3 separate regions of the Homo sapiens genome follow, and all the other regions are linked to region 1. The links are contacts of gene promoters, found by promoter capture Hi-C in human tissues and cell types (Jung and others, 2019). All regions are on one chromosome and are shown on one strand. Each heading gives the region's core, a stretch centred on a gene start or on the middle of the fragment in contact. The rest is flanking DNA. Distances are from core to core; before and after follow the strand shown. Region 1 holds the start of MIOX (myo-inositol oxygenase). Region 2 overlaps MOV10L1 (Mov10 like RNA helicase 1). Region 3 holds the start of TTLL8 (tubulin tyrosine ligase like 8).

Region 1 (4,747 bases), core at 136-2,635:
CTCCTCCCAGGCACCTGTCTGCATCCCTCTGGCCAGTGCATGCTGAGCACGTGACCTACCCGTGTTGGGACACGTGAGGATACAGCCTTGACCCCCAGGGGCTGACATTCTAGGGGGAGATAGAAGGAGACAAACGTAGAAGGTAGAATAAGTGGGTGGTGGAGTGGCAGGGAGTGCTGAGTGCCACAGGAAGTCAGACAAGGAAGGAGAGTGTGGGGCAGGTGCCGTTTAAATGGGGGGCGCTGGGGTCTCCTCACAGTTGCTTCTCAGCTCAGCTGTGCCAGGATCTTGTTGAGTCAGGTCAGCTGCCCACAGCCCTCTTGCCTGACCCCTGAAGCCCAGAACTCTGATCTTCACAGCCCTAGGTATGGCCCCAGCACCCCACTGCCCTCTCTCCTGCCCCAGCCGACTGCTGTTCCCAGACTTCCCTGGCCACGCTCCAAGACGCCAGCTCTGCCGCGGGCACTTTGTTCTCACGGTGTCCTCCATGCCTGCAGGGCCCATGCATGGGAAGTTGCGTTGGCGGCCTGGGTGTTGGCGGTTCCGTGCCTGCTCCAACTCTCCGTGAGGCCCCTCTCCCAGAGCCTGACACACTCTGTGGCCGAACTCTAGGCAGGTGCCCCTGAGTCCTTTCCTCGACGAGGCCTGACCCCATCCCCATCCTCGCTGGGCCCGCCGACCCCGGTGTTAGCAAGAATCCTCTAAATCAGTTTATGGAGAATTACCCACCCTCGATATCTGATCCCATTCCTCATCTCCCACCCTTGATCTCATCACCCTGCCGGCCTCCTGCAAGATCCTCATTGAGCCACTCCAGTGAGAATCCCCCTACCCTCGAAGGCCGCCCTAACAACTTCCCATCCGCTGACCCCTCCAACGCCATCAATCTCCAGCTGTGGTTGTTGAACTCGGAGGTGAGCTCCTCTCACCACTCTCTTGAATAAAGCTTTTCTCACCATTTTAACAAGTCCTCAGAATCATCTTTTCTTAACAAGCTCCTGCCCCACCCAGAATCACGGGGGGCCTGGGGACAAGTTTTCACCTCCTGAGATCCAGTGGGGCAGCCGGGGAAGGGGTGGTGCAGAGGGGGCGTGTGCTTGAGGGTGGGGTCTTGGGTCTGCCCCTACTTGTGGGACCCCACAGAGGGGTCTAAGGCCAGGGCCCAAGTGGGAGGCTGGGCCCACAGATAACCCTAGGCAGGTCAGCGGCTCGGGACAGGAGTGTGAGGCTGAGTCAGGGCCAGAGGATGTGGGACTGCTGGGGGCTGCTGCTGTGCTGACACATTAACTCCCTGAGGCCGGGAGGAGGGTGGATGGTCATTTATTACTGCGGACACTTATGTAACCTGGGGTGTATATAGGAGCCTGGCTGAGGACACACTCGCCAGCCTGTGCTTTGCCACCTGAGCGCCGCTCCCTCTCAGGATGAAGGTGACGGTGGTGAGTACCCAGACCCCATGCAGAGAGGCTCTGCTGACTGCTCTCCTGGTGGCCAGCCACTCCCGCCCTCTTCTAGCTGGCACTGGCCAGCCCTCCTCCTCCGTCCAGCTGGGCAAGAGCCAGCGGCTGCCGACCCCCAGGCTCCCTGTGGACTCAGTCTCCTCCCAAAGCCACTTCCACCCCTCAAGGGTGGCCATGGGTGCCGCTCAGGCGTGGTGTCCCCTGTACCCCGGAAGCAGACGTCTGCTGACTTTCGCTTTGCAGATGAGGACCTGGGAGTGAGAGCTCCTGGGACTCGCTGAGGCCAGGGCAGGGGCTGGGATGATGGCGTGGGAGAGGCTGTGTCCTCGCGTGTCACCCACCAGCCCTCGAGCAGAGGCAGGCTTGGAGTCTGCAGCCACCCTGGGAATGTCTGTGCTTCCTCGTGGAGCTGACATGATGGTGAAATAGGTTCAATCCTCCACCTACCCAGGGCCCAGACCCTTCCCTGGTCTACCGACCTGATGTGGACCCAGAGGTGGCCAAAGACAAGGCCAGCTTCCGGAACTACACGGTGAGTACCTTGCCGTCCTGCCCCCCTTCTCCCCCATCCACACCCTGGGGAGCAGCACTTGCCCTTCACACAGTTCCAGGGGGTGCCCTGTGGGAACTCCCACCCCCATCACACCCTGTGGGGCTGCCTGGGAGAGGGGAGGCATGGGGCCTCGTGTGCAGGGTGGGGGTGGCGCCACTGACCCTCCGGCCTGCAGTCAGGTCCCCTCCTGGACCGTGTCTTCACCACCTACAAGCTCATGCACACGCACCAGACAGTGGACTTCGTCAGGAGCAAGGTAGGCGTTTCCTGCCGCCCCGTGCAAACGCGGAGGGACCCTTGCCCTCAGCCCCATGAGCCCACCAGGCGCCGAGGGGATGGAGAGGCCTGTGTGGTGGGCCTGCTGACCCTGGGCCACACTGCCTTCTCCTTCCCCGCCAGCATGCCCAGTTTGGGGGCTTCTCCTACAAGAAAATGACAGTCATGGAGGCCGTGGACCTGCTGGATGGGCTGGTGGATGAGTCGGACCCGGACGTAGATTTCCCCAACTCCTTCCATGCCTTCCAGACAGCGGAGGGCATCCGGAAGGCCCACCCAGACAAGGGTGAGCCCTGGCTGTGCTGCAGGGGGGCAGGTGCTGCCTCCAAGGGGCAGAATGCAGCAGCCTGTAGGGTGGGAGGGGACAGTAGTGGGCCCAGGCCTCCTCCAGCAGCCCTGCCTGGGTTGGGGAGCAGGCCCTGGACCCTTCCTGGCTCTCAGCCCCGCAAACCTGCTCATCCTCTGCCTTGGCCCCTGCAGTCCCCAACCTGCCCTGTCCATCCCCCTCCCAGACTGGTTCCACCTCGTCGGGCTCCTGCACGACCTGGGGAAGGTCCTGGCCCTGTTCGGGGAGCCCCAGGTAAGAGTTGGAAGTGGAGGGTGAGGAGGCTGCATGTTGAGGCAAGGTGGGGGTGGAGTGGCCTTGGTGCTTGGCCTGGGATACTACCTGGGGGACAGGCCAGTGCACCCCCCACGGCCCCCCGACGGCTGCCTGTCCCTCTGGTGGCCTCGGTGCTTGGCCTGGGATACTACCTGGGGGACAGGCCAGTGCACCCCCCACGGCCCCCCCCACGGCTGCCTGTCCCTCTGGTGGCCTCGGTGCTTGGCCTGGGATACTACCTGGGGGACAGGCCAGTGCACCCCCCACGGCCTCCCCGCACCACTCCCCCCACGGCCCCCCATGGCCGCCTGTCCCTCCTGTCACTCTGCAGTGGGCGGTCGTCGGCGACACCTTCCCCCACTTCCCCCACGGCCCCCCATGGCTGCCTGTCCCTCCTGTCCCTCCTGTCCCTCCCATCCCTCCCGTCCCTCCTGTCCCTCCCGTCCCTCCCATCCCTCCTGTCCCTCTGCAGTGGGCAGTCATCGGCAACATCTTCCCCCACTCCCCCCATGGCCGCCCGTCCCTCCTGTCCCTCTGCAGTGGGCAGTCATCGGTGACACCTTCCCCCACTCCCCCCATGGCCGCCCGTCCCTCCTGTCCTTCTGCAGTGGGTGGTCATCGGCGACACCTTCCCCCACTCCCCCCATGGCCTCCCGTCCCTCCTGTCCCTCTGCAGTGGGCTGTCGTCGGCGACACCTTCCCCGTCGGATGCCGTCCGCAGGCCTCCGTGGTTTTCTGCGACTCCACCTTCCAGGACAACCCTGACCTCCAGGATCCTCGATACAGGTGCTCCCTGCTGCTGAGGGCTGGGCCCCCTTCCCTGGGCGGCTGCTGAGCCCTCCTCACCCTGGTATCTCACTGCAGCACAGAGCTCGGGATGTATCAGCCCCACTGTGGGCTCGACAGGGTCCTCATGTCCTGGGGCCATGATGGTGAGGCCAGAGGCGGGCAGTGGGGCGGTGGGGGGCGGTGGGGGACGGTGGGGGGCGGTGGGGCAGAGGCAGTGCCTGCTGGTGACACCCTCTCCCCACAGAGTACATGTACCAGGTGATGAAGTTTAACAAGTTCTCACTGCCCCCTGAGGTAGGTGGGGGGAGGGGCAACGCAGCCCGTCCACCAGGCCCGGTCCTGCAGCCCCAAGTGAGCCGCTGGGTGGCCTTGCCCGCAGGCTTTCTACATGATCCGGTTCCACTCCTTCTACCCCTGGCACACGGGCCGCGACTACCAGCAGCTGTGCAGCCAGCAGGACCTGGCCATGCTGCCCTGGGTGCGGGAGTTCAAGTACGCCCCGCTACCCGCCGAGGGGTGTTGTGGGAGTGAAAGAGGGGGTTGGGTGGGGGGCCTGGGGGTTCTTCACGGGGCTCACCGCCCCTCCCTGCTGCAGCAAGTTCGACCTCTACACCAAGTGCCCGGACCTGCCGGACGTGGACAAGCTGCGGCCCTACTACCAGGGGCTCATTGACAAGTACTGCCCTGGCATCCTGAGCTGGTGACCCTCCTGCCACCCAAGCTGCTGCTGGACCTAGGCCTGGCCCTCCGCCTGCCTGGAGAGGCCTGGCCCTGGGCAAACAGCCGCCATCAGGGTTCACCTCGGTGGGGGACCCCACTCACCCCCTTAGGGTCGCCACCCCTCACGGCAACTTGTGCCTGGCGTCAATAAAGACCTGGAAGGATGTTGTGCTTCTGAAGCCCCACTGGGTGTTACTGCAGCAGGGCGTGGCCCAGGCCGAGGGATGGTGCCAGCAGGGTGGAGGCCAAGTCCCAGGCTTTCAGGTGTGTGTGTCCCACCACACTGGCCGTGGTAAACATCTGCCCATCCTCCCAGCTCCTGTGTCAGAGCCTGGGGGACGAGTCACC
Region 2 (4,757 bases), core at 1,747-4,246, 390 kb before region 1:
CAATGTGGAAAAACTGGCCCCTGGGTGTCCAGCAAATCCCAGCCCTCTTGGTGGTCAGCTGCCCTTCACTTGTTCCATCTTGTAAGGAATGCAGGACCTTTTTTGTTATGGTGAAGAGGGTTCATCTCTACTCACAATCTTGCTTTTATAAATTAGTAATGGATTTTTCAAGTACTTTTCAGTATCTTCCAAATGATCCCATAGTTTCTGTCCCTTTGCTATTAATATGGTGGAAAATACAGTTTCTGTGTTGTGAGCCGTTCTCACTTGATGGGAATGATCCCCATTTGGTATAAACCTGAATGTACTTCTGGATTTATTTTTTATTTAGATATTTTTCTTGTGGTAAAATATGCGTAATATACCATTTTAACCATATTGAAATGTACGGTTCAGTGGCATTAAGCACGTTCACATTGTTGCGCAGCCATCACCACAATCTGTCTTCAGCACTTTTTCAGCATCCCAGTAGACACTCTGTACCCATTAAACAGTTATTCAGTGTTCTACTTTATGTCTCTATGAATTTGCCCATTCTAAATACCTCATATAAGCGGAATCATGTGTCTGGCTATTTGACTTCTGTTTTCAAGATTTGCCCATGTAGCATGTATCAAAAGTTAATTCCTTTTTTATGGCTGAATATTCCATTGTGTGAATAAATCACATTTTGTTTCTCCATTCATCTGTTGATGGACACTTGGGTTGTTTCTACTTTTTGGTTGTTGTGAATTGTGCTGCCATGAACAAGTCTGTCTGAGTCCTTGTTCAGTTCTTTTGGGGCTACGCCTAGGAAGAGAATTGCTGGGCTGTATGGTAAGTCTAGGTTTAACTTTGTGAGGAACCAGATGTTTTCCACAGCAGCTGCACCGTTATATGTTCCCACCAACAGTGCATGAGGCTGCCACTTTTTCTGTATCCTTGCCAACACTTGCTATTTTCTTTTTCTTTTTTTTTCTTTTGACAGTAGCTATTCCTCGTAGTTGTGAGGTAGTATCTCACTGTGGTTTTGATTTGCATTTCCCTAATGATTTGTGAGGGCATCTTTTCATGTGCTTATTGGCCATCTATATATCTTCTTTGGAGAAATATCTACTCAAATCCTTTGCCCGTTTTGAAATTAGGTTGTTTTCTTGTAGTAGGAATTCTTTATATATTCTGGATATTAATCTCTCATCACATACATGATTTGCAAATACTTTCTCTCATTTTATCAATTGTCTTTTCACTTTCTTCATGGTATCCTTTGATGCACAGATGTTTTAAATTTTGGTGGAAGTCTAATTTGTCTCTTTTATTGCATGTACTTCTGATGTCACACTCAAGATACCATTGACTAATCCAAGATTATGAAGATTTTTTTCTACCAAGAGTTTTATAGTTTTTGCTTTTAAATTAAAGTCTTTGATTCATTAAAAAAAATTTTTTGAGACAGGATCTCACTTTGTTGCCCAGGCTGGAGTGCAGCAGCACAGTCACAGCTCACTGCAGCCTCAACCTCCCAGGCTGAAGTGATCCTTCCACCTTAGCCACCTGAGCAGCTGGGACTACAGGTGTGTGCTGCCTCACCCAATTTTTGTATTTTTTGTAGAGATGGGGCCTCTCTATGTTGCCCAGGCTGGTCTCGAACTCCTGGGCTCAAGTGATCCGCCCATCCCACGCCTTTCCAAATGCTGAGATTATAGGGGTAAGCCACCACGCCTGGCCTCTTTAATCCATTTTGAGTTAATTTTTGTGTTTGGTGTAAAACGAGAGTCTAACTTTATTATTTTGCCCATGGTTATTTTCCCAGCACTATTTTTTTTTGAGACTGCACAATTGCAGTTTATTGAATGGTCCTTGTCAAAAATCAATTGACTGCACATGCAAGGGTTTATTTCTGGGTCTCTTTACTATTCCATTGGTTTATATTTCTGTCCTTACACTGGTGCCACACTAGTTTGATGACTGTAACTTTGTAGGAAGTTTTGAAATCAGGAGGTATGAAACCTTCAATTTTGTTACTCCTTTTCAAGACCATTTTGCCTATTCATGGTCCCTTGAGATTCCATTAGAATTTTAGATGAGTTTTTCTATTTATATAAAAATAGACCCATAGGACTTTGATAGGGATTGCGTTGCATTTGTTGGGTTTTTTTGTTGTTTGTTTGAGACAGAGTCTTGCTCTGTCACCCAGGATGGAGTGCAATGATGTGATATTGACTCATTGCAACCTCCGCCTCCCTGGTTCAAGCAATTCTCATGCCTCAGCCTCCCAAGTAGCTGGGACTGCAGGTGCTTGCCACTACACCCAGCTAATTTTTTTTGTATTTTTAGTAGAGATGGGGTTTCACCATGTTGACCAGGCTGGTCTTGAACTCCTGACCTCAAGTGATCCACCTGCCTCAACCTCCCAAAGTGCTGGAATTACAGGCATGAGCTACCACACCCAACCTGAATTTGTGTAATAGATCACTTTGGGTAGTATTGTCATCTTAATAATTAAGTCTAAGATTGTCATCTTAATAATAATTAAGTATTAAGATTAACATCTTAATAATAATTATTAAGATTAACATCTTAATAATCACATAATCACTTTGAGTAGTATTATCATCTTAATAATTAAGTCTTAAGATTGTCATTTTAATAATATTAGGTTTTCCAATTCATGAACGCGGTTGTCTTGCTGTTTATTGAGGTATTTAATTCATTCATTAGTGTCATTTTACGTGTCTTCCATCTCCTTAGTTAGGTTACTAAGTGTTCTGAGGAATTAACCTATTAACCTAACAGTGCTGTTATAAATGGAATTGTTTTCCCTTTCTTTGGATCATTTTTCTTGATTTCCTTTTTGGATTTTTCATTGCAAATGTATGGAAATCTGATTTTTGTATGTTGACTTTGTGTCCTGTGCTGGATTCATTTATTAGCTCTAACCATTTTTTGTTTCATTTACGTGTGTGGAATCTTTAGAGTTTTCCACAGATGAGATCCTACCATCTGTGAATAAAGATAATTGAAATTTGAAAGTCTTGAAGTAAGCATGGGCATCCTTGCCTGGTTCCTGATCTTAGGGGAAAGCTTTCGGCCTTTCACCATTGAGTGTGGTGTTTGTTGTGAGATTTTTGTTTATGGCCTTTCTCGTGTTGAAGAGATTTCCTGCGATTCCTAGTTTATTGAGTGTTTGCATCATAAAAAGTGTTGATTTTGTCAAATGCTTTTTGTGCATCAGTTGAGATCATCGTGATTTTTTCCCTCATCTTATCAATGTAATATGTTGACTGATTTTCATATGTTGAAACACTTTTGCATTCTGGGATAAACCCCACTTAGTCATGGGGTATAATCCTTTTAATATGCTGCTGCATTTGGTTTGATAATATTTCATTGAGGATTTTTGCATCAGTGTTCATAAGGGATTGCTATAGACTCAATGTTGGTGTCCCCCAAAATACGTATGTTGAAATCCTGACCCCAGTGGAATCTTATTAGGAGGCTTTGGTGGGTGACTGGGTCACAAGGGCAGAGCCCTTATGAAACATACCCCAGAGAACCCCTTTGCCCTTTCTGCCATGTGAGGACACAGCAGGAAGACACCGACGGTATACCAGGAAGAAGGCCCTCACCAGACCCGGAATCTGCCAGGGCCTTGATCTTGGACTTGCAGCCCTAATGGTCTCAGACAGGCATGCCAGCCTGTAGTTTGCTTTTCTTGTAGTTCTCGTATTATGGTTTAGAGCGGTGTGTTTGTTTTACAGGTAGAAGCTGTCTCTGATAAGTGGGAAGACGACAGCAGAAACCATGGGAGTCCCTCAGACTGCGGCCCCCGAGTGTTGATTGGCTGTGTGACTTCCCTGGTGGAGGGCGCAGGCTGTATCAGTCAGACCACCTACTTCTCTCTGGAGAGTGTGTGCGAAGGTATGCTCAGGGGTCTGTGTTCCACATTGAAAATTAGGTTTTGTCTTTTAAAGAATTGTTATGGACCAGGCACGGTGGCTCATGCCTATAATCCCAGCACTTTGTCAGGCTGAGACAGGAGGATCGCTTGAGCCCAGGAGTTGGAGGCTGCAGTGAGCTATGATCCAGCCACTACACTCCAGCCTGGGTGACAGAACACAACCCTGTGTCTATATTTGTGATGGCTACACACAACATTGAAGGGATCAGTTTTGGGCATGCTTTGTTTGTTGAGAGGGTTTCGGGATTAGAGTAGCTTCTCCAGGTGCTGGCTTCACACAGAGGCTCTTGGATATTGAGTGGACTATGGGAGAGGGCACCAGGTCACTGTTTTGTTTTTTTTGTTTTTGTTTTTGTTTTTGTTTTTCGAGATGGAGTCTCACTCTGTTGCCCAGGCTGGAGTGCAGTGGTATGATCTCAGCTCACTGCAACCTCTGCTTCCTGGGTTTGATTGATTCTCCTGCCTCAGCCTCCTGAGTAGCTGGGATTACAGGTGTGCACCACCATGCCCAGCTAATTTTTTGTATTTTTAGTAAAGATGGGGTTTCATCAGGTTGGCCGGGCTGGTCTCGAACTCTTGACCTTAGGTGATCCACCTGCCTCGGCCTCCTAAAGTGCTGGGATTACAGGCATGAGCCACCACACCCAGCCAGGTCACTGTTTAAACTTGTGCTTTTATGTGTTTTGTGTTCATTTGTTAAATGCAGTCAGTAATTTCTGGGTAGTTGTTGCTTCCATATAATTATAGTGTTATGATCTAAGTTAGTGTTACTGGCATGCTGAGGTACTATTTAAAGTACTTTAGATGTTTTAAAATA
Region 3 (5,091 bases), core at 396-2,895, 430 kb before region 1:
TGGGATCGGGGTACAGGAGGCAGGAGCCAGCGCCCCCCAACACCCCTGGGGTCCTCCGCCTGGACCGTCCAAGAGAAGGCGCCTGGTTCTGCAGCTCAGTGAAGTGCCTGCCCCCAGAGTCCCTGATTTCCTGGCAGCAGGCTGCAGCCAGCACTGCCTCTGAGCCCGGGCCACTCTGGGCGAGTGGCTGGCACACAGGCAATACACGATACCCACTATTTTCTTCTCTCCCGTCTCCATCTGAAGAAGAAGCCAACGATAGCCCCTTCCTCTCTGGTTCCATACTGGCCTCCGACAGCTTGCCCTTTGCTCCTCTGACCCCTAGAGGAGAGGGTGTGGTGGTTACAGGAAACTGGGAGGGTGTGGGGGGCTCTGGGGATGGAGAGGGTTCTGAGGCCCAAGCTGAGGGTCAGGTCTGGGGTTGGGGATCAGCTCTGGGGTTGGGATCAGGTCTGGGTTGGGGGATGAGGTCTGGAGTTGGGAGGTCAGGTCTGAGTTGGGGTCAGGTCTGGGGATGGGAGTCAGGTCTGGGGTTGGGGGTCAGGTCTGGATTAGGGGTCAGCTCTGGGGTTGGGGATCAGGTCTGGGTTGAGGGATCAGTTCTAGGTTGGGGTCAGGTCTGGGCTTGGGGGTCAGGTCTGGGTTTGGGGGTCAGGACTGGGTTTGGTGTCAGGTCTGGGTTGTGAGTCAGGTCTGGGTTGTGAGTCAGGTCTGGGTTGGGGGATCAGGTCTGGGTTGGGGTCAGGTCTGGGTTGGGCGGGAGGTCTGGGTTGGGGGTCAGGTCTGGGTTGGGGGTCAGGTCTGGGTTGGGGGATCAGGTCTGGATTGTGGGTCAGGTCTGGGTTGGGGTCAGGTCTGGGTTGGGGGGTCAGGTCTGGGTTGAGCGGGAGGTCTGGGTTGGGGGTCAGGTCTGGGTTGGGGTCAGGTCTGGGTTGAGGGTCAGGTTTGGGTTGAGCGGGAGGTCTGGGTTGGGGGTCAGGTCTGGGTTGGGGTCAGGTCTGGGTTGGGAGATCAGGTCTGGGTTTTTGGGGTCAGGTCTGGGTCGGGGTCAGGTCTGGGTTGGGGGTCAGGTCTGGGTTGTGGGCATCAGGTCTCAATTGGGGATCAGGTCTAGGTCGAGGGGGAGGTCTGGGTTGGGGGTGCAGGTCTAGGTTAATGAGGAGAGGTATGGGGTTCTGAAGGCAGAGGGGAGTGGACAGCTGTGGAGTTCCCAGAAGATGGGGGAAGGTGGGGAGAACAGCTCTGGGCTTTCGAGGGCGGGCGAGTGGGTAGAGTTGGGCAGGTTTAGTGGGGGAGTTCTGTGGTTCCGAGCTAGGCGGGTCTGGGATTCCTAGGGTAAGGGGTCTAGAATTTGGAGGCCCGGGGCGGGGAGGGGGTAGGCCTGGGTTTCCGGGTGTGGGAGGCGGGTCTGGGGTTCCGAAGGCAGATGGGGAGGAGGGGTCCTGTCCGGGATCGGAAGCGCGGACGGGCCTGGGGTTCCGCGGTCGGGGGTCGTGCTCACCGGGGACCGGGTCAGTGGCTCGCGCTGCGCCGCCCGGCTTCCTGGGGTTGCCTGGGACAACGTGCTGGGGCGGCCACGCGCATTGTGCACCCCCGGTGCGGCGGCTGCTGGGCCCGTGGCCTCGGGCTGTGCAGCGGCGGCGGCCCCGGGGCGTGGGGCTGCGCGGGCGGCGGGGGGCGCGGGGGCGCGGGGAGCTGCGGCGTGCGGGGGGCGCGGGCCCCGACGGGCAGCAGTCATCAGCGCTTGGGCTGGGCCCGGGTTGGGGTCCGGGTCCCGGGCTGCTGTCGGAGCAGGCGCGGCTGCGGGGTCGGCGGCGCGGGACGGTGCGCGCCATGGTGTCCGCCGGGGGAGGGCCCGAGTGTAGCCCCGGGTCACGCGCTGCGGCCCCGCGCCCCCCTGTGGAGGTCACACTCCATCCCCCACCAGGTCACAAAGACCCGCGGGTCACATCCTGCCCCTCCCCCTCGGGCCCCCCAGGCCCGCCAGGCCTTCTCGCCCTCCCCGGGGCCCTCATGCCGCCCTCTGTCCCTGGGCCCTTCCCCGACGCGAGGCTGGAGCGGCGGGGTGAGGAGGCCGCGGGCGCTGGGCTCCTCCCGGGCTGCGCGCTGCGGGTCCTGGCGGATGGGGGCGACGGGGTGACCGTATCAGCGCCCCCCGTCCTGCGGCGGAACTTGGGAGGGCCTTGGTATCCGCAGAACCACTCGTGGGGTCCCACGCCGCTGCCCCCCGGGGGGTTCTGAGCCCACCCAGGTCCACACGGCCCCTGTCGTTTCCCCCCGCACCCCGCGGATCACCCCGCCAGGGCAGCTCGTGTCTGATCTGGCATCTCGGAGTGGGGGTAGGAAAGACACACCTGCCCCACCAGGACCCTCACTCCTGGCAACTTTCCAAAGCCTAGATGTCTTCATTTGGTTTTAAATCAACTTTATTTTGCATTTAACTTCCCAAGACACCCCAAAAGGGAGGTTCTGCCCCGACTCTGAAGGGGCTGGTGGGGGACTTGAAGGGGGGGAGTGGGAGCGTCCCCTGGCGGGGGTGGTTCCCTTCCAGCTCCCTCCCTCTTCCCCGGGGAATGCCACTGGGCTCTCACCAGACCCCAGTACTGGCCTCTAGGGGTTACACAAATCAGTGAGTGAAAAGCTGGCCCTCCCTCCACCCGCCCCTCCTCCCTGTGTCCCGATGTTTTTAGACCTGAGTGAGCTGACGCTGCTGAGACACAATATTAAATAGCCACAGCCACGTCTGCAAGTCAGCGTTTATTGCTCAAGCGTATTAAACAAAAATGTAGACTGAAAGAGACAGTTCTTTTAAACCCCATTTTTCCGGATTTTTTAAGCGCTCTAAAATAAGAAAATAAGAAAGTGCAAGCCAGCAAAAACGCTCCAAGTGCCTAATTCTGACTCTGAAACTTGAGCTCTCTGGTCTGCCCCCAAGAAGACATCAGCCCGCCCCGGGTCGTCCCTGTGGCTCCCACCCCATTCCCAGGAGCAGACCCCGCCAGCCTCAAAGCTGCAGGGAGGTGGGGGTGGCCTGCAGACAGGGTGGGGTCTGCATCCGGTACCAGTGACAGCAGCCTCTCCTCTCCCACGGTGGCGCTTGTTTGGGGCTGTGGCCAAAGTGTTTGCCCGGCCCCTGACTGTGTCCTTCCGGAGCTGCCGAGGACTGCAGAGAGGGCCTGGCTTGTCCCCTCTAGGAGCAGCTGGGAAGGTGTCTTGCCTGCATCCCCCTTCAATGGTTGAAAATAATGATTCCACTTGTCATGAACACCATGAAGGTATCTTGGCAGCCAGAGTCACTCCTGTTCCGCAGTGGGAAACCTGGGAGGGTCCTCAAACCCCCTGGCAGGGTCTGCAGGCCGCCCCATCCAGCTGCATCTCCCAGGCCTCCTGGTTCTTTGATCTTGATGGCCCCAGGCCACAGATGCATCTCCGGGCCTTTCCAGCAGCCCATGGGGGACCAGTCAATACACCCCACGGCGGTGAAGAGAAAACGTTCATGTCTTCTCAGATCAGAAGGAAAGAAACAAAACCATTGTGAAGGAAAACACCTGCTGGAAAGTAATTATCAAAGTAACAGCATTCCAGTTTCACAGTCGCCCCAACTCACTGTGGATTTACTGCCGTCAGCTGGGAGGACCCAGGCGCCCTCGGGACGAGGAGACGCAGGGAAACCCACTCCTGGCCATGGCACTACCCAAAGCCAGTGTTATTCTCACACCCAACTGTCCCTGCAGCCTGGCAGGTGGGCAGTGACCGCCTGGGCTGTACCCTAAGACCCCAAAACAGCGGAGATGGAGAAGACCGCTGCCCTGGGGCCTTCTCAGTGAGGATCAAGACAAAGTACTTGCTAGGAGGTAGAGGGCGCTGGGTGAACCTGTGAGAATTCCTGGGCTCTGACCTGATCTGTCCTGCATTTTGAGTAATGGGAGCAAACACAGGAGGGAGGGGCTCAGCTTCCCCCGGTCACTGGGGCCAGGGAGACGTGGTCCAGCCGGTTTACAAAGCCTTGGATGCAGCCCCACCCCCAAGAACACTGCCTGTCACAGCAGCGGCCACGTGGCACTCCAAGCTGGGCATGACAGTGCCCGGGACGTGGGCAGCGGCCATGTGGCACTCCAAGCTGGGCATGACAGTGCCCGGGACGTGGGCAGCGGCCACGTGGCACTCCAAGCTGGGCATGACAGCACCCAGGACGTGGGCCGGCCAGTGTGGCGGTGGATCCCTCTAGAATGACTGGGTCTAAGTAGGGAGACAGGGCAGGCGACCCGGCGTGGACTGGTGTGGATTTCACCTGGGAGAGCAGCGGCAGCCTGTGTCGCTTGCGCCCAGGCTCTGGAGGAGGGGCCCCTGCGGCTCCCGGGCCAGGACAGAGGCGCCCAGCCCTGCTCTCACTGTCCAGGAAGAGCCGCTGGGCAGCCTGAGCCTGGGGCAGGTGCACCTTGCAGGGAAGTGGGTAAGATCCCACTGGGCTGACTGAGTACCCGGGACAGACCCTAAGCGTGGAGGGAGGAAGCCCGGTCAGAGTGGGCAGGAGACGCAGGGACCCACAGTCTGGTCAGGTCCAGAGAGCCCACTCCAGCCCAAGCCATGAGAGAGGCAGGAAGAGGAGCTGGGGCCAGTTCAGGGGTGGGGCTCTCAAGAGGCCGAGCCGGGGGCCCTTCCTCGGCCTGGGAAGTTGCGGCCATGCTCCTGCTGTTACGACACGGGAGCCACTCGGAGCTGACTGATCTCACTGAGGCACAGACTAGCCAACATTGGCCTATTTTAAAATTAAACTACCCTAGGAAGTGAAAACCCCACCTGCAGCCTGGTTTGCCCTCACACAAGGGAAAAGAGGTGTTAGAAGCAGTAGCTCAGGGCGATTAGGGGTTGTGCGTTTCCATGCTTGGGGCCAGGCTGGGCGCTGCCACCCGGTTTCCGCGTCTGGGGGTCACTGGGCCATTTGCACCACGACGGCTCTCCAGGCTTTCTCCTTGTCGAACTCCTTCAGGGGGCTCCTGGCCACCTGCAACCGAGACAGGAAAGGTGTTACTTCACCAGGGCCACCTGTGCGGCGGGAAGGTGGACACGCCACTCGGCCACAGGCAGCGA

Evidence for each region. The method cuts DNA at HindIII sites, captures the fragments that hold promoters and counts their contacts. A contact is called where the count stands out against the background at its distance.
Region 2: a contact is called between a fragment that was not itself captured here and the fragment with the promoter of MIOX in region 1, in 2 of the 25 tissues and cell types used here (lymphoblastoid cells and spleen).
Region 3: the fragment with the promoter of TTLL8 here is called in contact with the fragment with the promoter of MIOX in region 1 in 2 of the 25 tissues and cell types used here (lymphoblastoid cells and mesendoderm cells).

The regions. Positions count from the first base shown.
Region 1 is chr22:50,485,474-50,490,220 of GRCh38, forward strand. MIOX (myo-inositol oxygenase) reads left to right here and starts at 1,386. Exons shown (of 10, transcript NM_017584.6): 1 at 1,386-1,439; 2 at 1,912-1,992; 3 at 2,189-2,269; 4 at 2,413-2,575; 5 at 2,802-2,869; 6 at 3,567-3,676; 7 at 3,755-3,822; 8 at 3,924-3,973; 9 at 4,059-4,171; 10 at 4,275-4,747. The coding sequence starts at 1,425. The coding sequence ends at 4,383. It overlaps ADM2 (adrenomedullin 2), which reads left to right. Exons shown (of 3, transcript NM_001253845.2): 3 at 1-964. The HindIII fragment of the contact is 6,574 bases long and covers 396-4,747 here.
Region 2 is chr22:50,095,703-50,100,459 of GRCh38, forward strand. MOV10L1 (Mov10 like RNA helicase 1) reads left to right here. Exons shown (of 27, transcript NM_018995.3): 3 at 3,741-3,900. Among named protein-coding and RNA genes, the nearest start is that of MOV10L1, 8.1 kb to the left of the region's middle. The HindIII fragment of the contact is 9,728 bases long and covers 1-4,757 here.
Region 3 is chr22:50,056,653-50,061,743 of GRCh38, forward strand. It overlaps TTLL8 (tubulin tyrosine ligase like 8), which reads right to left and starts at 1,646. Exons shown (of 14, transcript NM_001350317.3): 1 at 1,502-1,646; 2 at 217-321. The coding sequence starts at 283. MLC1 (modulator of VRAC current 1) reads right to left here. Exons shown (of 12, transcript NM_015166.4): 12 at 2,739-5,005. The coding sequence ends at 4,931. The HindIII fragment of the contact is 29,458 bases long and covers 1-5,091 here.